Linked DNA regions of Homo sapiens: all the other regions are linked to region 1. The links are contacts of gene promoters, found by promoter capture Hi-C in blood cells and fetal thymus (Javierre and others, 2016). All regions are on one chromosome and are shown on one strand. The core of a region is centred on a gene start or on the middle of the fragment in contact, and the rest is flanking DNA. Distances in the headings are between cores, read along the strand shown. Region 1 holds the start of PELI1 (pellino E3 ubiquitin protein ligase 1). Region 2 overlaps SERTAD2 (SERTA domain containing 2). Region 3 overlaps AFTPH (aftiphilin). Region 4 overlaps LINC01805 (long intergenic non-protein coding RNA 1805). Region 5 has its middle 8.9 kb from the start of LINC01805. Region 6 overlaps LGALSL (galectin like).

What was found. Contacts are between HindIII fragments. The CHiCAGO score rates a contact against its expected background, and 5 or more counts as called.
Region 2: a contact is called between a fragment that was not itself captured here and the fragment with the promoter of PELI1 in region 1, in 1 of 17 cell types (fetal thymus). The highest score is 7.4, in fetal thymus.
Region 3: a contact is called between a fragment that was not itself captured here and the fragment with the promoter of PELI1 in region 1, in 1 of 17 cell types (activated CD4 T cells). The highest score is 5.5, in activated CD4 T cells.
Region 4: a fragment that was not itself captured here is called in contact with the fragment with the promoter of PELI1 in region 1 in 3 of 17 cell types (activated CD4 T cells, M1 macrophages and M0 macrophages); the score reaches 6.6 in activated CD4 T cells.
Region 5: a contact is called between a fragment that was not itself captured here and the fragment with the promoter of PELI1 in region 1, in 1 of 17 cell types (activated CD4 T cells). The highest score is 6.2, in activated CD4 T cells.
Region 6: a fragment that was not itself captured here is called in contact with the fragment with the promoter of PELI1 in region 1 in 1 of 17 cell types (activated CD4 T cells); the score reaches 5.4 in activated CD4 T cells.

Annotation. Positions count from the first base shown.
Region 1 is chr2:64,142,242-64,146,090 of GRCh38, reverse strand. PELI1 (pellino E3 ubiquitin protein ligase 1) reads left to right here and starts at 1,671. Exons shown (of 7, transcript NM_020651.4): 1 at 1,671-2,010. RefSeq lists silencers at 1,444-1,503, 1,594-1,783, 1,864-1,933, 2,074-2,143, 2,154-2,223. The HindIII fragment of the contact is 6,118 bases long and covers 1-3,136 here.
Region 2 is chr2:64,649,912-64,653,760 of GRCh38, reverse strand. SERTAD2 (SERTA domain containing 2) reads left to right here. Exons shown (of 2, transcript NM_014755.3): 1 at 1-141. Among named protein-coding and RNA genes, the nearest start is that of SERTAD2, 2.1 kb to the left of the region's middle. RefSeq lists silencers at 1-34, 1-66, 175-504, 805-884. The HindIII fragment of the contact is 834 bases long and covers 1,192-2,025 here.
Region 3 is chr2:64,553,625-64,557,473 of GRCh38, reverse strand. The region is part of intron 2 of AFTPH (aftiphilin); the gene reads right to left. LOC105374773 (a long non-coding RNA gene) reads left to right here. Exons shown (of 7, transcript XR_007086343.1): 5 at 1-22. Among named protein-coding and RNA genes, the nearest start is that of MIR4434, 30 kb to the right of the region's middle. The HindIII fragment of the contact is 2,380 bases long and covers 673-3,052 here.
Region 4 is chr2:64,495,208-64,499,056 of GRCh38, reverse strand. All of the region lies in intron 2 of LINC01805 (long intergenic non-protein coding RNA 1805), which reads right to left. Among named protein-coding and RNA genes, the nearest start is that of LINC01805, 11 kb to the right of the region's middle. The HindIII fragment of the contact is 265 bases long and covers 1,792-2,056 here.
Region 5 is chr2:64,475,490-64,479,338 of GRCh38, reverse strand. No RefSeq gene overlaps it. Among named protein-coding and RNA genes, the nearest start is that of LINC01805, 8.9 kb to the left of the region's middle. The HindIII fragment of the contact is 5,493 bases long and covers 1-3,849 here.
Region 6 is chr2:64,457,108-64,460,956 of GRCh38, reverse strand. It overlaps LGALSL (galectin like), which reads right to left. Exons shown (of 5, transcript NM_014181.3): 5 at 1-2,672. The coding sequence ends at 2,529. Among named protein-coding and RNA genes, the nearest start is that of LGALSL-DT, 4.2 kb to the right of the region's middle. The HindIII fragment of the contact is 620 bases long and covers 1,395-2,014 here.

The DNA of each region.
Region 1 (3,849 bases), core at 422-2,921:
TCTGCTTACAATCCTTGTGTGGCTTCCCATTGTTTCCAGGAAAAGGTTCATGTTCCTTAGCATATTGTGCAAGATTCTTCATTACCTAAGCTGTCTCCCTTACCTTTTTCAGTGTCTCCTCTTGCCACTCCCCCAACTCCATTCTACTGCCAGCAATGCAACTATTTGCTGAACCAAAATACGTTTGGGTCTCACACCTTTAGGTATTTGTGCTTGATGCTCTCCCCAACACCACCCCCAATGCTCTCACCCACCTCTCTCTTCCTCCTCCCCTACCAAAATACACAAACATGTTAATTCCTAGTTATCTCAAGTGATCTTTGAAGCATTTCCTGATTTTGCCCACATCTGTGGGTAGCTTTGCATTTTCCTATTGTAGTACTTCTCAAATTAAGTCTATTTACCTGTCTCCTCCTTTGCATAGTAAGCACTCTGAAAATAAGAATGTTTCTTTTACATTTTTGTATCTCTATTTCTGGGGCTCAAAACAGTGCCTAGCACAAGTAGACACTCAACAAGCATTTTTTGAATGAGTGTATAATTATATAGTCTGTAGATATAAGGATTTCTGATCTTGAGACTCTCTGAAAGCCTTGCTCCAAAAGTGTGTCTGATTCCTAAGCATTAATCTTTTTCTTCCAGGGTGTGGGGTTCTAGGTAGGTGGAGAAGGAAAACAAAAGCGCTCAGGACGCGTTGCCTTTAGCTCTCCGGAGAGCCAGTAATGTGTCCTGCCTTTCTCCACCCTCCTCCCTACCACCTTTCCACACCTGGGTGCCCAAGATGGGTGTAGACTTAGCTGACCAGCCCAACAACATACTCATACCTTGGTTCAGACTTCTCTTATTACCAAACTAAAGTTGGCCAATACACATAAACAATTTTCAACTTGTCTTTTGAACGTATACTTTATGAAATTTGTATGTCTTAAAAATTGTAGGCCTTAAAATGAACGAACCCGGATTCTTTTATAGTAATCAAGTAAAATATAGGGGTCTTAATTCTGTACTTTGCCTTTGCTAATCTTAAAGTTAGATGTGACTAACTGAGCAAAGTAATTAATTACGGGACTTTGATAGTGGTGATATTCCTAAGTTTTATAACCTAATTGTTCAATTACTGGAAACAACTACATTTCGACAAGTCTTAGGTAAAGAAAATTGAATTTAGCCGGAGAAGATTCAATTGAGGGAAGTGAGGGACAGAGGTATTTGTGATTTAGGGTTTGTGGAAGATAAATTACGCAGCAGGGAAGACTGAAATATGGAGAGAAAGTCAGACCTCACTGGGTACTTATGACTGGTAAGGCTAGGAGTTGGAGGTGGAGAAAAGTAGGAAGGACCGTCTAAGGGTTGGATCCCCAACAACACCATAATACAAGACCGTCCTTGTTCAGCCAACAGCAGCACTGAACACGTTCGCTAAGTGTGTCGGTGACCATGGTAACGGTGGGAGGGGGCGGTCCAAACCTCGCCCTCGAGCATGCTCAGTGCAGAGCGAGCCTGGTAGGGTGCTGGACAACAATGAATCCCTTTTTTCTTCAACCGGAGAACTACAATTCCCAAGAGCCTTCTCGGTGCGGCGACACCGCCTTCCGCTGTGGCCCTGCCCGGTCCCCTCCCTCAGGCCCCGCCCCCCGGCTAGACCCCTCCCCTCCTTGCGAGTGTATGTCAGTGACCCAGAGGCGGTGTGAGGCGGAGGGACCGTCGGGGGGCGCCGCCGCCGCCTCCACTAGCAGCAGCGGCAGCAGCCCTAGTCCCGCGGTGCGGTCGAATTGGTCCCCAGCCCTCCGGGAGCGCACCACAAAGCAGCCCCAACGCCTCTCCCTGCGTCCGCGGCTCCTCAGCGCTCGGCTCCGTGGTCAACTTCCCCTCGCTGGGCTCGGCTGGCGGGCGCGGAGGGCAGCGGCGGAACGGCGGGCTGTCTGCTCGCGCTCCCCGCGCACAACACTTCACCCTCTCGCCTCGGGTCTCGGGGGCCGCTCTGGGATCCCGGCCACCAGCAATTGTCCGGTAAGTGTGACCGCGGGGCGCCGCGGGATGGATGGCGGCGGGGCCGCCGAGGGGCGCGGGGAGGGCGGGCGCGCAACTTCCTCGGCGGCTTCCCCGGCGGCCAGCAGCCGGCTCTCCCCGCCCGCCTGCGCGCCCCCGCTGCGGCGGGGAGCGGAGTTTGCGGCGCCTGCATCCCGCGCCCTGGCTCGAGGAAGCGCCTTTGTCAGGAACCGGCCCTACGCGGCCTCCCCCTCCGCCCGGGAGCGGGGCGCGCGGCGGCCAACTCCGAGCCCCGCGCCTGGCTGGCCGCGCGCTCCGGCTGCGAGAGGGGAGCTCTGCGGGTGGCGGGGAGGAGAGGGAAATGGGAGAAACAAAAGGGGCGGTGGGTTTCCCTTTTGTTTGTGCGGATCTGATAACTTCTTTTCCTCCCTTACATAACGCAGACTTCAAGTTAGTCATTCTTTTTATTGTTATGATTGTTGTCATCATCTCTGCGCGTCTTTCACATTTCCTTTCATCTTTGGATCTCAGAGCATTTTAAACACGCTAATTAATTTCACCCCCGGGTCCCCTAGGAAACAAGTTAATACGCCCGTTTCCCTAAGTGGGTAAACTGAGGTCGTGAAAAGCTCTCAAATTGATGGATACGCTTGATCTTCTACCGCGCCTCGTGTCTGAGTATATGAAAGCGTTTATGAGGAAGAACCCGTTCTCCAAAGCCCCGTGGAAAAGTTAAAGATGCTCATTTTACTTACAGGTTAACTGAAGTCCAAAAGATGTCTAGGTAATTGTTACGTAGTTCAAACCATAATTCTTCTTACATAGTGTTTGAATCTTAAAACCTCTAAAGACTTAGTGAAAAATGCTCCGAGTAGGGAAATTAATGTAAATCATAAACTCACGTCACCATCTACTTTTATTTTTGTACGTGCAGGTCTGTTAGAGGCAAGAGAGCAAGAAGGGGACAGAGGGCAGAGGTTTTTTAAAAATGTACATTTAACAGATTTTAATCACTACACACAAGGAAATGTGCCTTGGTTTTAACAGCACCAACAATATTCCTGTCGTTTAGTCATCAAACAGTATATCAACAAATGTTATTGAGAACTTTATTCATAAGGTGCTGGTTGTGCTAAAAACTGAAGCTTTATATATAAGAAAAGGTCATCTGTTTCGGTTCACAGGCTCTTTACTTTTTCTTACTCTGCAAAATGTTACTTTGTTTTCATTGCACATGATCTTTTGTTTCAGAAATGGCATTGTCCTTTACTGTGTCGAATATGTATTACTCTTACACTTAAGGATAAATGAATTTATTATTAAGTTTTCATAATAGGGTGAATTTAAAATATTTTAATTGTGGTAAAGGTTCACTTTATTCAGTTCTGTTTCAGTTTACGATGCGTTTTCTTTATAGCCAACAAAATATTTTCTGAGTGATAAGATTTACATGTCTCAAAACATTGTTCTTAGTGTACAAATACAGCATATGAATTCCTTGTTTTTTTTATTTATACCAACAACCTCTTCTGGGGAAAAGTCTTTAACTCTGAGGACCTTATTTATTTTGTGAGTTTTTATTTCTTCGGTACCATACTGGAAAGCACCAAAAATTTAAACCAAGCATCACTTCTACTAGCTCTTTCCTCAGGTAAATAATAATCAGAACTGTAGTAATAGTGAATAGTTTCACTTACTCTAAATTCTCTTAAATTTAATTTTGTACTATATAGTTGTCCTTACATTTTAGATTTTGGTGGTTGCATCAGAAAATGAAAGTGAGATGTTCGTTATTTTATTTTTTTTCCCAAAGCCTTCTAACCTGTTCCCTTTCTATAGTATGTTAAAAGAGATCTTGAG
Region 2 (3,849 bases), core at 359-2,858, 510 kb before region 1:
TAGCTTCAGCCTCGCCTGCTGCCCGCTCCCCGGCGCCACCCTCGGGCCCCTGGAGCGGGGCACTCCGCATGGAGCGGGAGTAGCTGAGGAGTGGGCGGAAACCCCTCCTGATGCGTTAGTTCCCAGGTGGAGCTGCATGTGGTAAGTTCTCCCGGCGTCGGGCTGGAGGGGATCCGCGGGCGCGGGGGGCTCCGGGTGGATGGGGGGCCGGTGTTGGGACTCGGCCAGGGCTGGGAGAGCCCGGAGGGCGGAGGAGGGGCCGGGCGCCGCCGCGGGAGGGAGCCGGGGACGGAGCAGGTACGGGAGGAGCGCTCCCTCCCGCGGCCCCGGTCCGGGCCCCGCGCTCTCGGACCCCCGGCGCCTGCGGGCTGAGCCGCTGGGGGGCAGGGCCGGGGTCAGGAGGGGGTCGGGAGCTCGGAGAGCCGAGCGGCGGGCGGGGGCGCCTGGAGCTGTCGCCTCTACAGCTGGGATGTGTGTGCGCGTTGTGGCGGTTGTGTTGTTGTGAACGTGCGAGACTTTTTTTAAGGCTCGGATTGCTGGCGCGAAGGCTGCTTCACTTTTGAGTTCCGTGGCCGGGTTTGCATCCAACTTACTGTAGTGCGTTTTTGTGAATTTCCCGGTGTTTTTTTTAATAATGTTGAAAACCTTCCTCTCCACCCTCTTTTCTTTCGTCCATGCCCAAATGAATTGATTTGGGATCTACATGTATATTAAACTTAACGTCTCGTTGGTTTTTAAGTTAGAAATCTACAAGTCATCTTCGTGGTAACCGCCTATGACTGAAAGGGAGGGGGCTGAGGGGAGCCAGCTGTCCCAAGCCCTAGACTTTGTACCAGTAAGAGAGGGGGTGTCGTCACAGGGCCACTACATGGACAGAAAATCGTATTTTGTTTTGTTTTCTTGGCTATAAGTTACCTTTAGCAGAAGTGGTAGTAATAGATTGCGATGGGAGTCGAGTTTTAGGTTTAGTTTCTAAGTTTCACGAAAATATCAGGTATAGTTTGCATTGGAATAACTTTTTGCTTGCAAGCCGAGTCGTTTCAGGAGGTAGAAAGTAAGTTTTCACAGACACTGAATGGGGAGGACAGTCAGCAGAGTGAGACAGCCAGCCTCAGACCACAGCAGTTTTTATTTGAATCGAATTGGGCAGCCTCAGTTGGGCTTAGGGTAGAGAGTACATGTTTTCAAGCTTTGTTCATGAAATACGCTTTTTGATTTCCCAATGTATGTTAAGAAATATCCATAATGTGTGTAAAGAGGCTAGAAGTTGTAGTCACCAGGATTCCTGAGGCCCTAAGTGTTCACAGTAGCTTTTTGTAGTTAGAGACTAGTCCCTGACAAGAGTGAAGTGGGCTTTGGGCTTCGCTCCGCCCCTGAAGGACCGTCCACCTGAGAGCGTCTGGGCTGCTTGGCCGATGGGGGTTGGGGGTAGTTGCTCAGCTCAGCAGAAGGCATGTCTCACCCTGGCAGCTCCCATCCCTCCCCCTTTTTATAGCAGTCTATTCTGATATGAGTGTGCTAGGGTGTGCTGTGAAGATGAAAATATCCATCCTAAGATCCCAACTTCTGGAGTGAACAAGAATAGTTTGTTTGTGGATCTCTGCTTTTCTGTTTATTTTTTCAGGGTTTTTTTTCTTTTTATTTAAAAGAGACAAATGTTTAAAAGTTTTCCTTTAGCTTCATTGACTTCTTTAGAGGGGTATTATATGTTAATATAAAATTGTTTATGTCGTTCATTAAGTTTGGAATCCTTTAACAGTTTTTTTTTTTTACTTGTTTCACCCCCTAATTAAAATATACATAACCATGTTGTTCTCAGATGAGAAATCTTATTTTGGATTTGACATCCCCCAACCCCCTTTTTCCTTAACACCCGGCCCTTTTCCTTACTTCATTCAGACAGGTAAGGGAGAGGACTCACATTTTGTAAAGCCAACCAAGTGTATGTGTGACAGGAGGTGTCCTAGGGAACGGTTTTATTGTCAGGCGAATGTCACAGCGTCTTAGGTAACAGCTGCTCAAGCTTGTTTCCCTTGAAGAACTAAGAGAAGGATATTAATTCAGATTTAGAAAATCTTTACACTTCTGTTTGCTGAATTGTCCCTCTTTAAAGCTTTTCTATTTAATTGAGAAGCTAAAATATGAATTTTGCCCAGTTGCTACACACTGAATTATTACTGATAATGAGCCTAGTAAAATAGCACATATTTTGATATTTTAAAACTCATTCAAATTTGTGTGGCGACTGATAGCTTATGGTATCTGCTATTTTAAACAGGGTTCCAATGGCAGAGTAAGTTACAACACTACTTTAGAAAGGCACACACATGCATCACACACAAAAAACATTACAAAACGTATGAAGGCAGTTTGAAGATGTTCGAATGCAAATACATAAAAATTTCTATCAACTTGCAGCATGCTACTTTTATTATCAGTGTCCAATTATACTACAAGTTTACCCTCAGACAAAATATTTTACATTTTAGTAACTAAGAAAGGTGAAAGCTGGAACAGAAACTTTGAGAGGTTTCTTTTGCTGTGGTTTCTTGTTAAAAAGCACAGAAAAAAAAGTATGAAGCTTTATTTTATATTTCACATATATCAACAGAATCAAGACCACTTTGTCAATATTACCTGTGGAAAAAGCTATATATAGATAGGCGTATTTGGGGCCATGAACTTTAATTCACTCATAGAATTTTTAAAGCTTCTTGGCAACAGAAATTTTGTATTCACTGTCATGGCATATCCTATAGGAGATAGCTCTAGTTGCAATAGTTACTTGGTGCGTGAGAGAGAGAGCAAGCGCAGGCGCCGTCTCTGATTACTGAGTCCAAAGATCAGTTGTGTACTGAAGGCACCAGAAGGCAAGCTCCAGTTGACATGAAAATGGCCTCACAATAAGGGTGACACCAGCTCTCATAGGTCTTTCTGTTAATTAATACTGACTAGCAAAACATGAAAATCTAAAAGTGCCATGGCCACTTTATATGCACAACTCATATATTTTGTACATATTGTTAATAATTACTCATTAAGCAATTGGTAGAAAGCCACAAGCCAGGACTCCTGTTTAAGAAATGTGTGGCTATTTCATTTAGTTTTAGTATGTTTGAAGGAAATGGCTACTAATCTAGAAAAAATGATTGTCTCAAATGGCCAGTGCAGTTGATATTAAAGGCAAACTTATGCCCTGTGTGCAGATGCTGGGAAACCCTTATGAACAGAACTGTCCCCTGGAGCGTCCGTCACTCATTGTGTGGAGCAGTGTCTTTCTCCATTAGCACTGTGTGGCAGTTCATTCTTTGTATGAATCTGTGAATGGCATATGTCAGCCCAATAAGACGACATTCCTATTCTGAGTAATAAATAGACTCCTTGTTTTGTTTTTTTTTTCTCGGAGATCACGAGACAAACAAAACATGATTGGCTGTCTAAAAATTTTCTTTGAAATACAAATGAAAATTTTAAAGTAAAATATCACAATATATTTTATAATATATGATTTCTAATAGGACAGAACAGATACTGCCAGTTTGAACAAGCACCACATATAGACAGCGCAAACTCTCTTTTGAAAATTCTGCCCTCTTTGTGGTCTGAGGGATCCCAAAGCTGGAAAGACCCATTTGTCTTTTCTCAGAATCCTCTGTCCCTCATCTGAACTTAATGCTAGGATTCTCTGAAGTAAACCCCACAATTTGATTGATCTATTTTGGAAACCCAAGATCACCTAAGCTGTATTCCGCACCCATTGCAGTTTTCAGCTCAGAATGGAGTTGGCATCTGTGCTCCTGGCCGGCCTATTCTTACACTTGCACACTGTCTGGCCAGAGCTGGCCCTGC
Region 3 (3,849 bases), core at 613-3,112, 410 kb before region 1:
TCTTGAACTAACACAAGCCAAGGTATTAGTAATTCTCTTCTTTTTGGTGGCACTTGACTTTCAAAGCTCTCAAAACAAATCTTCAGCTAACAGCATTTTCCCTGTAGCATTATCAATTGGATGTCTAATAAAAAATAACTCATAGCCTCCTTTTCTATACCCAATTAATATAAACAGATTACTTACCAATTACCTAAATTTCTAAATGATATCCAGAACAATATTTTAAAATTTTACAAAAGCTCAGGGGTAAATGCAGTGCTTATGACATTCATTACCTCTTTTATCATGTAGCTATCAAACAAGGCATTTTGGTTATTTCAATCAAGATTTCTTTCTGAAACAAAAAAGTTAAAAAAAAATTTCCTGGCTTCCCAGGACAGAAAAAAAAATTGTTAAAATAACACTCATAAAAAAGGACTGCTTTGAAATGTAAGGAAGGTTTTGTTGTTGTTGTTGCATTTTGTTGTTTTAAATCTTTAGCCAAAAAGTGAAGACCTCGTTCTCATTCGTATAATGGAGATACCACTACTTACCTTCTCTACAATTTATACAAATGTTAACAAAAGAATGAAATATACTAAACTTCAGGTTCTCAGAAAAAATTATTCACCGAAGGGACAAGATATCTATTTCTCAATAATGTTCATATATGGCTTTTACATCAAAGCTTGAACCCTCTGAGACTGGCTGGACCCACAGCTGAGAATTAGACTACGAACATTTTTTTAATTTTGCAAGAATTCTTGCTTGACTTTTCGCTACCTAAGTAACAAATTATTGCACTAACCCCAACGAAGACATATTTATTAACATTTTAAGATATCTTTTTGGTGGGCTAAAAACAGGAAAGTGCTAAGAAATGGGGACCTGGACAATGTCACATACCAAATAGTGAAAAGTGGAAGAAATCTGAAATGACCAACTATACCATTTGTCTGACTTCACAAAACAAAGATTTGTTTTCCATGCTTGTTTAATCAAACAAATTAAATCAAATTGCCATGTTTGTTTAATTAAGCTCTGAATTCTAAAACACGTTCTGTCAAAGCAAAATTCGGACAAAACCACTTGATGGCATTTTGTTCAGGACACTTGTGGCATCCGGGTAAGATTGAACAGAAATAAATCATTTCAACTTTTACCACTAAAAAACTTAATGCTTACTGTTATTAATATGTGAGGAGGCTAGGCACGGTGGCTCACGCCTGTAATCCCAGCACTTTGGGAGGCCGAGCCGGGTGGATCACCTGAGGTCAGGAGTTCGAGACCAGCCTGGCCAATATGGTGACACTTCATCTCCAATAAAAGTACAAAAATTAGCCGGGCGTGGTGGCATGGGCCTGTAGTCCCAGCTACTAGGGAGGCTGAGGCAGGAGAACTGCTTGAACCCGGGAGGCGGAGGCTGCAGTGAGCTGAGATCGTGCCACTGCACTCCAGCCTGGGTGACAGAGCAAGATTCTGTCTCCAAAAAAAAAAAAAAAGTGAGGAATTCGTGCTGTTCCAAACACTGTCCGGAGCAACTAGGGAAAACATTTTAAGAAAAATACTAATAAATCTAATCCTCTCCAAAAGGGCTAAATTAATGCACTCTTCTAGCAGAATCTGAAGCCCAAGAAATAAAGTGCCAGCCGCAATTCTCTTTCACAACAGCAGGGTAAGAACGAGAGTCTTTGTTCAATCTTTCTCCACTTCTGACTCAGTCACTTACTCAGCAGGGTTTATCCATTTCACTACTTCAACTTTCTTCCCAAACTTCTTCTGGCCTCCTCCAGCAGTTTCTCTTTCCCAACATCCAAATTCTGTTCATTTTCCATAACCCATTAGCAAAAATAGAAGCATGAGGCCTTAGCCAAACAAATCCAAGAAAGTCTTGTGTGTGTGTGTGTGTGTGTGTGTGTGTGTGTGTGTGTGTGTGACAGTCTCTCTCTGTAGCCTAGCCTGAAATGCAGTGGTGTGATCTCGGCTCACTGCAACCTCCACCTGCTGGGTTCAAGTTATTCTCCTGTCTCAGCCTCCTGAGTAGCTGGGATTACAGATGCACGTCACCACGCCCAGCTAATTTTTGTATTTTTAGTAGAGACAGGGTCTCACCATGTTGGCCAGGCAGGGCTAGAACTCCTGACCTCAAGTGATCCACCCACTTCAGCCTCCCAAAGTGCTGTGATTACAGGCATGAGCCACTGCACCTGGTCTCAGAAACTCTTAATGCATCTTGCCCCATCTATAGTTTGTTTTATTTTTATAAAAAAAAGAATCATACTATAAAATTCTTATTTTCTAGCAGATTATTTCACTCATTTTAAAATTTCCTTTTATATTCACAAAAGTTCTTTGAAGTAGGTATTACCTTCTTTGTATATACAGCTGAATTCAGAAGTAACCTATCCAAAAATCATAAGGCTTTTTAAGAGGCTGGGTCAAAATTCAAACTCAGATCTGTCAGATTCCATGAAGCCCATACGCTTTATTATCTCCTATATCCAGTTATCAAATTATACATAAATAACTTCAATCAACTTGTATGATGCAAGAAATTCCTACTTGAGTGGTCACACTTTAAAAAATTCATTATCTGATGATGTTAAAAGTTCTAAGGCTACAAATTAAAGATCACCCAATACCAGTGTCACCCTATCCTCTAGTGAGATGAAACTAAATAGGGAAAGGGTTAGGTCAAAAGCAACAGTCCTCATTTAGCATCATAATTAGTTCACTTCTTGTTTAAAATGGCAAGGTTCTGCCTAAATAATGAACTGCTCAATAGGAATAATACACATTAGCTAAACCATGTAATAACTGAATTAGCAAATTAAACTACTTTGACACAAAAGCCAACTAAAAAGCGATTAGCTATGCACACCAACTGGTAATACCATAATTTCTCTAATATCTTACTGTCTCAAAGTTATCAAGGCAATGAAATATAAGTATTTCAATTACAAAGACTTTGGAAAGATTTCCAGTTGAAAATGGTTTTCTTAGCAGAAGATAACTGGAGAAATAAAGTTTGTAGATTCTGAGTTTATTAACAGTATATTTAAAATAAGCTTGTGGATCAGGTGTTAGTTACATATATCAATTGTCAGTATAAGGCAGTGAGGTTCAAGGGAGTGCCCTCTTCCACACCCCTGGAGTTGAAAAAAGGTAAAGTTTAGCACAGAGTAGAACTCTGGACTGGGGAACAACCTAGATATCAAGCTACACCTCTAGGGGCTACTTTAGGTCAAAGTGAATCTTAATGAATCTTTTCTGAAAGAGTCTGAATCAAAAAAGGATAATGTATAGGAGGTAAGGGGTAAAAATATTCTCCCTGACACACCTACTCTCTAGGAAGAGCTAACAAGTACATTTGTAAGAAAGTATAGGCAAATAAATACAACTACAATAAGTGAACCTATAGTTATTTCTTATTTTAGGACTAAACCTTAATTCATCTCATACCCTCACCCCAAGTCTTTTAGCAGCTGCTAAATTATGAGGAAAAAGAAAAACTTGCTTTTTTCTAGTTGTTTTTCTGTTCTTCAATTCACTATAGCCTTTGGCACAGAATGAGGTTTCAAATTCTGCTTGTTCTCTCCTGGAATCAAAACCGTACTTGAATTTCCTAGGTCTTTGATGGAAAAAATTAACATTCTATTCTTAAGCTTAAAAAAAAAAAGATCCAAATCTCAGTTTAACCTTCTTTTAAAATCACTGTAAAGGGTAATACTGAAGGATTGACTGGAACCGTCAATTAGGTAATAAGTGTGGGTTTTTTTTTTTTTTTTTAACATATATGGTATTTATAGTCACCAAAAAATCCAAGTTGATGAGTATCTGTAAATATTAACGAAACTCATTGAGATA
Region 4 (3,849 bases), core at 675-3,174, 350 kb before region 1:
TCCTTTCTACTGATAATAACTCTTTCAACCAATTGCCAACCAGAATATGCTTAAATCTACCTATGACCTGGAAGCCCCCACTTTGAGTTGTCCTGCCCCTTCAGATTGAACCAATGTAAATCTTACATGTATTGATCGATGTATTGTGTCTCCCTAAATTGTATAAAAGCAAGCTGTATCCAGACCACCTTGGGCACATGTCATCAAAGCATCCTGAGGCTGTGTCACAGATGCGTCCTCAGCCTTGGCAAAATAAACTTTCTAAACTAATTGAGACCTGTCTCAGATACTTTTGGGTTCACACATCCTTCCCAAAGAAGTTCTGACCCACTCCATCTTTCATAGATGACTTCTGCACCTAATTTACTGAAAAGATCAAGGGCTCAGCTCTCCTCTCCACTGTCTTAATTTTGCTTGGATCATCATTTATCACTTGCTTTTTCCTTCATTCTTCCTCCCTATTTCCAGAGAAGTCACATGCTATCTTTGTTCTCAAAGCTAACCTTATCTGGGTTTCTTGATTTTACCAGTACTTCTTTGCCTCCACCTCCATCTACCAGTATTTTCCTCCTTCTGGCATGTTCAGGTTGCCATTCTCTAGCTCCTTGAAAATATACCCTAACTTCCCGACTGCAAAAGCCTGAACCATGCATGACACTGCTTCCCTATCAGATTGCTAACCTGTCTTTTTCCTTCCCTTTACAAACAAATTTCTGGCAAGTGGAGGCTATCATGAGCTTCTCCGCTTTCTTTATATGCTTTATACTTGTCAAATCCTGGCAATCTGGAACCATCACACTTTTTAAAAATTAAAACTGGCCTCTTGAGCCAAGCACGGTGGCACACACCCATAGTCCCAGCTGCTTGGGTGGCTAAGGTAGTAGGACTGCTTGAGCCCAGGAGTTTGAGGTTGTCATGAGCTATGATAACACCTGTGAATAGCCACTGCACTCCAGCCCAGGCAACGTAGCAAACCTCATCTGAAAAAAAAGAAAAGGCCGGGCACAGTGGCTCACGCCTGTAATCACAGCATTTTGGAAGGCTGACGTGGGCAGATCATGAGGTCAAGAGATCGAGACCATCCTGGCCAACATGGTGAAATCCGCTCTCTACTAAAAATACAAAAATTAGCTGAGCGTGGTGGTGTGTGCCTGTAGTTGGGAGGCTGAGGCAGGAGAATCGCTTGAACCTGGGAGGCAGAGGGTGCAGTGAGTCAAGATCGTGCCATTGCACTCTAGCCTGGGCAACAGAGTGAGACTCCATCTCAAGAAAACAAACAAACAAATAAACAAAAAACCAACCTGGCCTCTCAAAAGGTGTCACTGAATTCAGTGAACTAATGAACTGTTCAAACCCCAGATCCAAAGACCTCCTCCTGCTGCTCTCTGTAACACTCAACAATTCTGACTGGGCCATGCTTGGAAAAGAGGGACAGTGAGCGAGACTAGGGAATAAGGGCAGATAAGTGAATTAAATGGATTCCAGAAGGGAAGGGAAGTTTTTGCAAGCAGCCATTGAAAAGGTTAAGCTGAGTCAAACACTCCAGGGTCTTGGGCTTTGTTCTTTTTTTGTGGAAGGGGATGGGATAGAGTTGCCTCCTAAGCCCTACTGTCAGAACCAGGGCAGTGGGTCCTGTGTATTCTGGTGGGTTTGGGCACAGCACTGCCTGAGCAGATAATGGCCATGTGGTTTTTGTTTTGGGGAAAGGACTTAGACAGATACTCAGAGCCCACAGAGAGGTTTCTCTTTACTTTATGGACTTAGGCATATTGACAATGCTCACCCCAAGCTTCTCTAAAGAACTCAAGTTATTCCAGATCCAAGACTATACCCAGGGGAAGATAACATTGGATGACCTCTCTTTCTTCAGATTCTTACCGTGGTTTTCATAACAACATACTGTTCCTCCCTCTCTGGCCTTTGTCTCTCACTGGCTCATCTGTTGTTGCATGAGCTGCAAAAGCAGAAACATCCCAAGGTTCCCCTCCAGCGGATTCCTCTTCTCTCAGTGTATCTACCTTTGATTTATCATCCATTCCCATGCTTTCTAAAAGCTTGATGAAGCTGCCTCTTCTACAGTATAACCAAAAGTACACTAGGTTCTAGGAGGCACACTTTATTTTGGATAATTTTGAAAGCTGTGCAAACCTGCATCAAACTGCCCCACACTAACTCACTAATTTGGAAGGGTGGCCACATTCACACATATTAGAAATTACATGATCAGTTCCTACAGAAACAGTAGTGCCCATTCCATAGGTCCCCTGCTGTTGCTACGTTCTTTTGTTGTTCAGCCTACCTCCATGACCTTTAACTTAAGGACAAGTTTCCTAGTCCCATACCAGAGGGCCTATTCGTTTGAGAGGAGCAAGATGCATTAATATGTAATAATAGCTGATGAGGCCATGTTGAAGGAATGATGGCATAAGAAAATTCCATTTGGCTACCACCGCAGTAATAACTGCTTAAGGGAAGAATGACCAATAAAAGCTAAAAGAACAATGAGAAACAGGATATTTATGCCATCTCAAAGTATCTCCCAATAAGATACTTATTTAAAAAGTAAAAACAGTAATTTTCAGTGGGGAAATCTAGCAGATACCACCTCAACCAAGTGATCAAAGGGAACATTAGCATTAACGGGACAAATAGGTATCATGTGCCTCTTGACATGAAGCACCGAGAAGACCACAGCATGGCTTCTGAATATTCCTGAACAAAAACGCATACTTTGAATCGAATCACAAGAAAACATCAGACAAATCCAAACTGAGCATCATTCTACAAAACAATTAGCTTGTACTCTTATAAACATGTTAAGATCATGAAAGACAAGAAAGAAGAATTGTTTCAAATTAAGGGAGATTAAAGAAACATGACAATTAAATGTGACATATGATTCTGAACTGGATCCAGGACCACAAAAAGGACACTAGTGGGCAATTGGCAAAATCTGAATAAAGTTTGTAGATTACACTATTGTTTCAGTATCAATTTCTGGATTTGGCAGTTGTATTACGGTTATGTAAAAGAATGTTCCCGTTTTTAAAAAAATATACACCGAAATATTTAGAGAAAAAGGGACCACATATCTGTAATGTATTTGCAAATATTTCAGAAAAAATTGTGTATTTGTAGAGAGAGAGAATAATAAAGCAAGTGTGATAAAGTATTAACTTTCAGGGAATTTGAAAAGAGTATATGAGAAAGAGTTTTCTCATATAACACTAACTAATATTTCCTTCCAGAGGGAATGCAGTATGGCAGCATTATCTTTGAAACAAATTAAGAAGATTGTAACAAATAACAGACAAATACTTCTACACATATATTTTCCATGGGCAATAAATAGATAAGTATAGAATTATGAAAAATATGCCTCGATGATGCTTTTTAAAATTTCTCAAGGTTCACTGGTTTGTTTTTCTTATTAAAATATACTTCATTATCACTACTATCTGTCCTGGGAAAAACAAACCCTGAGGTTTGAGTTTCCTCCTTTAGCCAATTGAGTGATATCGAGAGAAAACGTGGATTGAGGTCAACCTGTTTGAGTCAACAGAGAGTTCTGTAGTATATCTGTTTATTTTACTAATTTATACATATTCTAGGTCATAATCAAGATACTCATCAAATATTTTCTATCAAAGTTTTATATCCCAAACAGGTTGTTTGATGATTTATCTGGCTACCATAGGAAATTTGAAGAAATAACAAATCGTGTAACAGAAATAGACATGCAATAGAGAGGACATAAAAGATACAGCTTGACCCTAGGTTTTTCCCTTAGAATAATTCCTTCCATAAATAAGATTTTATTTTTACATATAGATTCGTCCTATAACAGGT
Region 5 (3,849 bases), core at 653-3,152, 330 kb before region 1:
CGCACTTTCCGGTGAGGCCCAGAAGAGTCTGCAAATCTTCCAGCCCCATCCCCAGTGTCTCTTTGTGGCTTGAGAGGGTGGCTCACCCACCGCCTTACCATATGATCCATGCCCTCTCCCCCCTAGCAAGGCACCTCCACCAGGGGCCCGGCTTCCTTCAGGCACATGTGCCCACAGGGCATGGGCTCTGGCAGAGGCCAGCAAACCTGGAGGCTGGAAGCTCATTTTCTGAGCTCCAGGAAGGGCGGGGAGGTGTGGGTTCTTTTTGAAACCAGACCTATGTGCTTAGAAACACCACAGAAGGGCTGGGCAGAGCCACTGGGGGTTGGATGGGGTTGCTGTGAATCATAGGAACTCTAGGCTAGAAGAAGCCATCTGAGAGGGGAGGTAGGTTCTTTTGAAGTCTCAAAATCTTTATTTAAAACAGAATCCAAGAACCTTTGATCATGCAGCAAAGTTTATGACATTATATACGTAATAAAGGACAATGAAGCAACATATAATCCTTGTTAATTAAAATGGTCTAAATTACATGTAATCTCTGAATTTACAAAGATAGCACAATGTATGCAATAAATCCTATTTCACAGTCTTTTTTTAGTAACAACAAGGTATTAGAGGGGGTAGGGTTGGTGTTGTAGGTTGTGAGACTTGTGGTAACATTGCTCATCTCTTTCCAATTTTTGCTCTTTCTCTAACCCATTTTTTATTCTTTAATTGACCACACTCATCTTGTTTGCTTTCTGTTCCATTAGCTGAAAACTTATATGGCACTTCCAGGTGAATATGAGAACATCATCTGGAAGTTGAATAAGAAAAAAAATAATTCAGAAAGAGTATCCTTAGACTTTAGAACATAAAACTTTCAGCAATTTTACAAAAATGACCAAACCCAGTGAACCTCAGGAATAAATGAGCAGCCAAGTTCTTCCTTAGCACATTGGAGCCATTCTCCAGAGGCTGTCTCACCTGATGGTTTACCCGGGGCAGCAGGTGGCCCGCGAGGGGCAAAAACAGAAGAGGAAAAGACACAGTCAGGAGAGATTGTGCACTCTTATTTGGAAAGCTGATGTAGTTTTGTAGAGTTGGCAAATTTTTTTCTGTAAAGATCCAGAGAGTAAATAGTTTCGGCTTTGCAGGCCACATGGGCTCTGTCAAAACAATTCAGCTGCTCCATTATAGTATGAAAGCAACATAGACAGTAAGTAAACACATGGGCATGGCTGAGCCTCAGTGAAAACTTTATGTATGAAAACAGGCCATGGGCTGGATTTGGCCCTTAGGCCATTGTTTGTCAGCCCCTGTATTGTTGGCTAAATGACAGTAGGCTAGAGAAAACTAAAAACAGGAGTAGAGGATATGGGGCTGGAAAATGGAGGTAAAGACTGTTCTGTGTTCACTAAACCTCCTTCCCTTTTCCTTTTCCTTCTGGACATGTAGGTAGACTATATGGTTCCAACCTCTCTCATAGGTAGGTGGGGCCATGTAGCTAAGCTCTGAATAGTGGAATATGGGCAGAAATGATATATACTGCTTTCAGGCCCGGCCCCAGAGAAACTGCCCAGGAGACCTCTGAGTTCTCACTCATTCTTCCTATATCTGCAGGCTCGATGCAGAGGATCCAGAGTCCTCTGGTATTAGTCCTAGTCCGCAAACCACCTTAGCGGTGCTAAAAACCCATGCATCTCCTGGTTCTTTCTCCCACACCCCACTACTGCTTGCCATGGCAAATCAGGCAAAATCTTTACCAAGGCAGTAGGGAAAGTCCTACCTGCTTTTAGAGAAGGCCATACTCTTGTTAAATATCAAAAGGCAAGTTATTAATTTATGCTAGAAACAGAAGGATACCTGTTGTGAGTGGATGGAGCAAGTGGATGAAGAGTCAAGGGTGGCTGTTGGACAAGTCCTGCTGACTTGTGCAGAGGACTTCGAGGCCCTGGAAATGACAAAGCCAGTTTGTGGAAGAAACCTGAGTTCCCACATAATAGGATTGAGCTGAACTTTCCTTCCAGCACTACTGGACTTTGACATGAGCTAGACATTAACTTTTTATTTTGTCAAGTCACTGAGAACTGGGGGTTTATTTGTTACAGCAGCCAGCACTACTTATTGTAACCAATATACAACCCAAGTATCAAGTTACTTTGTGCCACAGATCCCCCAGAAAGCCCAGGAATTGGATGTGACATGTACTTTTGAATGTGGGATGAGGTTGGAGTAGAAATTAGCAGAATTGTTTGAATTTTGAGAAAGAAAACCAGTCAGACCCTGAGCTCCTACCCTAACTGCAAAGTCAGGGGACTTTCTTTTTAAAGGAGTTTTCAAATGTCTCATATAAAATTAGCCTATTTGACCGGGTGCAGTGGCTCATGCCTATAATCCCGGAACTTTGGGAGGCTGAGGCGGGCGGATCATCTGATGTCAGGAGCTCGAGACCAGCCTGGCCAACATGGTGAAATCCTGTCTCTACTAAAAATACCAAAATTAGCTGGGTGTAGTGGCGGGCGCCTGTAGTCCCAGTTACTTGGGAGGCTGAGGCAGGAGAATTGCTTGAACCCGGGAGGCGGAGGTTGCAGTGAGTGAAGATCGTACCACCGCACTCCAGCCTGGGTGACAGAGGGAGACTCCATCTAAAAATAAAATAAAACAAGTCTATTTGATTCTCACAGAATTTTTGAAGAAGAGTGTAAGATGGAATTGTTTAGTTATGAAAACAGAGACGATTTAAACTAGCTTGAGCAAAACTGGAGGATTTTTTATAACAATGCAGGGCATTCTCCTGAACTTGAAGATAAGAATGTAGCCCAGTCCTAGATCAGGCCAGGGTCCTGGAAGTGGAAATCCACCAGGTCTGTTTGTCTCTCGGCTCTGCCTCTCTCAGCAAACTGCTTTGTTCTTCTGTAATTCAGATTCCTCAACCAAAGATGGCCAAGCCCAGCAACCAAGGTGTTTTACTTCTTCCTTTTGAAAAACCAGTTCAGAATGAATCTAAGTCTCCTGGTACCCATTCTAAAATCCCAGGAGAGAAAGTCTAGTACAAACATGGCTGCGGAGACCCAACTTAGAGTAAGGTTAGCTCTCAAAAGGGTCAATGTGAGCTGTGCAGACTCCTCATGTAGGCAGGCAGGACAGATAATGTTTTCCTTATTTCACATAAGGAGTGACATAGGAAGAGCAGACACTATTGTTCCCATTTTTTTGTTTTTTTTTTTTTTGGTAGAATGAAAGTGTGGAGTGGAGAGCTTAGTGGATTTGTGAAAGCCACCCAAACTCATCAGCAGGACTTGTCCAACAGCCACCCTTGACTCTTCATCCACTCAAGGATACACAACAGGTATCCTTCTGTTTCTAGCATAAATCAGTAACTTGCCTTTTGATATTTAACAGAGTATAGCCTTCTCTAAAAGCAGGTCAGGCTTTCCCTACTGCCTTGCCAAAGATTTTGCCTGATTTGCCATAGCAAGCAGCAGTGGGGTGTGGGAGAAAGAACCAGGAGATCAGTGGGTTTTTAGCAACACTAAGAAGATTTGTGGACTAGAACTATTTGAAAGCCTCTGATATAACTCACTCCCTGGATTCTAGACTGAAAAAATACCTAACTGGTACAACTGAAAAAATAATTTTAAAAAATCACACAAGTGGTAATAAACAGAAAAGTTCTGGTGAACAGGAATCTCATCTCTCAGTACTGACCCAGCAGAGTGCTTGATACTTAGTAGTTCCTCAATAAACTACCTAGTAGTTACTCAATAAAACTACTACTTGTAATAGATTGGTCAATCTACTTTTTGGAAGATTGGATGGATTTACATTTTCTACAGAAAAATTAGGAAGTGCTGAGAAACGAAA
Region 6 (3,849 bases), core at 455-2,954, 310 kb before region 1:
ACTGTAGAAATGGACAGATTGTCTAAAGCCTGCTTTCTATTCCCCCAGAGCCTGATTGTTATTTATACTCCTTGGTTTTGGTTATTGCAGAACTAGGGCTCTGGTCAGAAATAACACCTTACATACCCGAATACTTTCCTGTGGAAGCTTTACATTGCATTTTCCATCCTGAAATTCTCACCTTAGACCTTACAGGCCCAGGAGAGGGTGTGAATATTGTTTTCAGTTTACAGCTAAAGCCCCTTACTAATTTGGGCTATACCTGAATCAAATCATCACATCATTTAGATTAATCCCAATAGGCTTATCCAAGCGGTTCCCACTAACCTCACAGAGAAACAAACAGTTAACATTGTATTTTCACACTAAGCTGCCTAAGGGCTTGGCTGCTAATGAGTTAGCTGATAGGTAGACAGAATAAGCGTGTCAATTCCAATCAGTACACGCCCTGCTCCTCTAGTTTCTGCTGAATTATGCAGTGGGTGGGAATGGTTGGCCACTCAAAACAGTCTTCCTATGGGGCTCTTCCACCATAAGTTGGATCAAAACTCCACAAATGTATTTCAAGGTGCCCTTTAAGTCTCTCAAATTTAGGGACTTTTAAGTGACAAGCCATGAGAAGTTAATCACAGGCTTGAAAATACCTGGAACCACAGAACAGCCCCCACGGAACAGGCTGAATATGGTTAAATAAGTTGGCTGGTACATAAAGCTTTTCAATGTACAGCCAGTCTTGTTGGATACAGTGTCTTCTTATATAATACAATGGAACTGTGCTAAACAGTTTCAAAGTTGAGAAGAATCCAAATGTATCACCTATAAAAAATTCATAATTTTAGTTTATTTTAGACTTTGGTACTGAAACACTGTCTACATTCTTGACACTTGAAAATGACATGGTCACTTCAGTGCCTCTGCATGTTGTGTAAAAAAAAAAAAAAAACTCAAAAAAGGAAAGCAGGACAAGGATGTGTCATTACAAGACACAGTATGCTGTACAAACAAAACCTAAATTATATATAAATACACCCCCACCCCAGAACCCTGTCTTCCCTCACTACCTGATCAAAGCAATGCCAAGGGTCCCTCCCTCCAGGGCCAATGTAGCTTTTAAAGTCCAGAACCCAGGACTTTAAGCATCCCTTGCCTTGCGGTGACGTTTACAGTACTGCAACCTCCTGTTGGAGTCACCTGTTTGATCAGTTCCGTAAGTGCAGGGTAACACCTACAGCTTAATTGGAAGCATTCACTCTACTGGCTGGATTCAAAGACCTGGAGTCCTGGGAGTTAACCTTTCAGATAAACTAACTGGATCATTTCCTAATCTGGATCCTATCTAATCCTACTATCTCCTCAGAGCCAACACAGTAGGAAGCATCTTCTACTCTGAAGCTTCCAAAGGCATTACTTAGGGATATTGGTGAGGGTCACATAAGAAAAGTTATACAATGAGCTAACAGCTTAAGTTGATATAAATTACTTCCAAGTAAGTTATTCAGGGCCGTTTGCTTCTGCTTTACACTGCATTCCACAGTCATTTTCATATTATTCTTTTAAAAGTTTATACTATAGTCACTTTAAAAATTGTCTAAGCAATCACCTCTTTGTGTTTTTGATTAATAACAACTTAATGAGCTATTATATAAATCAAGAGAGAAATAATTAGTCTTAAGGAAGCCAATAATGTGCTAATTCCCAGTAAGGAGAAAAAGCAATGTAAATAGAATTTTACATAACCAACAATAACTTGGAAAGCAGTTTTATCAAAATGGTTTTGCAAAGGTTTCCCAAAAGCACTTACAGCAGTTTATATCAAGAGATCCTAAGTTTAGGGGTATGGAGAATCTCAATTCTTTAAAGCAGAAATTCACCTGTTTCATAATTGTAATATGTAATTTTCTCCCCTTGGACCTAAGATATTTATACATTCAAAAGTTTACAACTTGCTGTTCTTGAGACATTGTTCATTCTTTAATACATACATTGAGTATAAATAAATAACTACAAGAAAGCTTCAACAATCTGAATTAACATTATGCTGTGCAAAACAAAAACAAAAACAAAAACAAAAAACAAAAAAAAAGTCAAACCTTGAACAACCTACATTCTATGTAAATACCCTGACTAAAATATTGGTTGTGCTACACAATTCCACTTTAGTGCAGAAATGCATTGATTTCACTGTACCGTTGTTGTTGGCTTTTTAAGTGTCTTTAGCACTTCTGTTTCTAAGCATTGCCTTGCTTTGAAAAGATGAATAATTTGCTACCAAATCACAAATCATCACAAATCCATTTTAGTTTGGTCTGAATAAAATCCAGCATAAATGTATTATTTTATTCTGGGTATAATGGCTCGGTGTCTTTGTCCCAACAGCTTTCTTCTTAAGGGCAAACCACCCTTAAGTGAAACTTGCCATTTGTTTTTGTTTTCTTTTTAAGTCTCCAGATCTTGCTAGGACACTTCTTCCAGACCAACAGTCAGATAGTTGTGGCACGTGATCCTATTTGAAATAGAGGTGGTTTAAATCAGCCAAGCTTGGTGATCTGGAGGTCTCCATTTATCTTTATGGTGTCAATTGCAGATAACGTTTGAATGCGATGGTAAAAATCAAAAAGTTGGTGTCCATCCACAAACACTCGGAAACGTGGGTGCTCACAAAGAATTTCCACCTGGAAGAAACAAAATAATAATCCACAATTTCAATGAACGCTACTGGGGAAAACAAACAATACTTCATTTTAGAGAAAGAAAGGCAGTATCTTCAGTGGTTCACAAACATCAGAATGCATTGAGACCTGCAGAGGGCTTGTTAGAACACAGATTGTTGGGCTCTACCTCCAAAATTTCTGATTCCTGTGTAGAATGTAAGTGTAAAAGCTTTTTCCTCAAGTAATTTACCATAAAGTTCAATTACTGGTAGTGTGCTATGATGGGTTTATTAAAAGCATTGGCATTCACCATGTAAGGAGGCTCCATATGTGATACTAGTCACATTTATTTTATATTACTAAATTTTATCACCAAGAAGGGCCTATTTCACTTCAGTTTTGCTGTTGGGAGCATTATATTCCTCCTGGCAGTCAGAAGCTGTGGTTACTCACATTCATGAGCTATGCATTAAGGTTCATCACTAAGAAACTATCCTAGCCAAGAGGAGCCCAAGGGGACATCACCATTCTAGAGAAGGGGATGAGGAGAGATAATGGGTCAAGGGTGCCTTCCAGAGACTATAACTAGAAGTGCAACTATCTCAATTCTACCACCAATGCAAAAATCATGGATTCTTATTTTCCCCAGAATGTAAGAAGAGAAGTGAAAGAATTACTTCTTCATGAGGCACTTGAAAATTTCTAGATGAAGGGTAACCAGTTAAGTGTAGTTGTGTTTTATTGGGCTCACATGTAACATGGAGCTTTTAACTGAGTTGTCATTATTGTGATGTAATGTTAAGGTGTAATGACAATTCATCACTAGGTCTGACCCCTTTTTAACACCATTACTACTTGCATTTCCCTTTATTTTTTTTTTTTTTGACAGAGCCTTGCTCTGTCACCCAGGCTGGAGTGCAGTGATGCACACATAGCTCACTGCAGCCTTGAATTCCTGGGCTCAAGCAATCCTCCCGTCTCAGCCTCCCAAGTAGCTAGGACTACAGGTGTGTGACACCATGGCAGGCTAATTTTTTTTTTTTTAAAGGCAGGGTTTTTGCTGTGTTTCCTAGGCTGGTCTTGAACTCCTTTGCTCAAGCAATCCTCTTGCCTCAGCCTCCCAAAGTGGTGGGATTATAGGCACAAGCCACTGTGCCACTACCTGCATCTCTTATTTGGCATTGCCTTTCATAGAGGA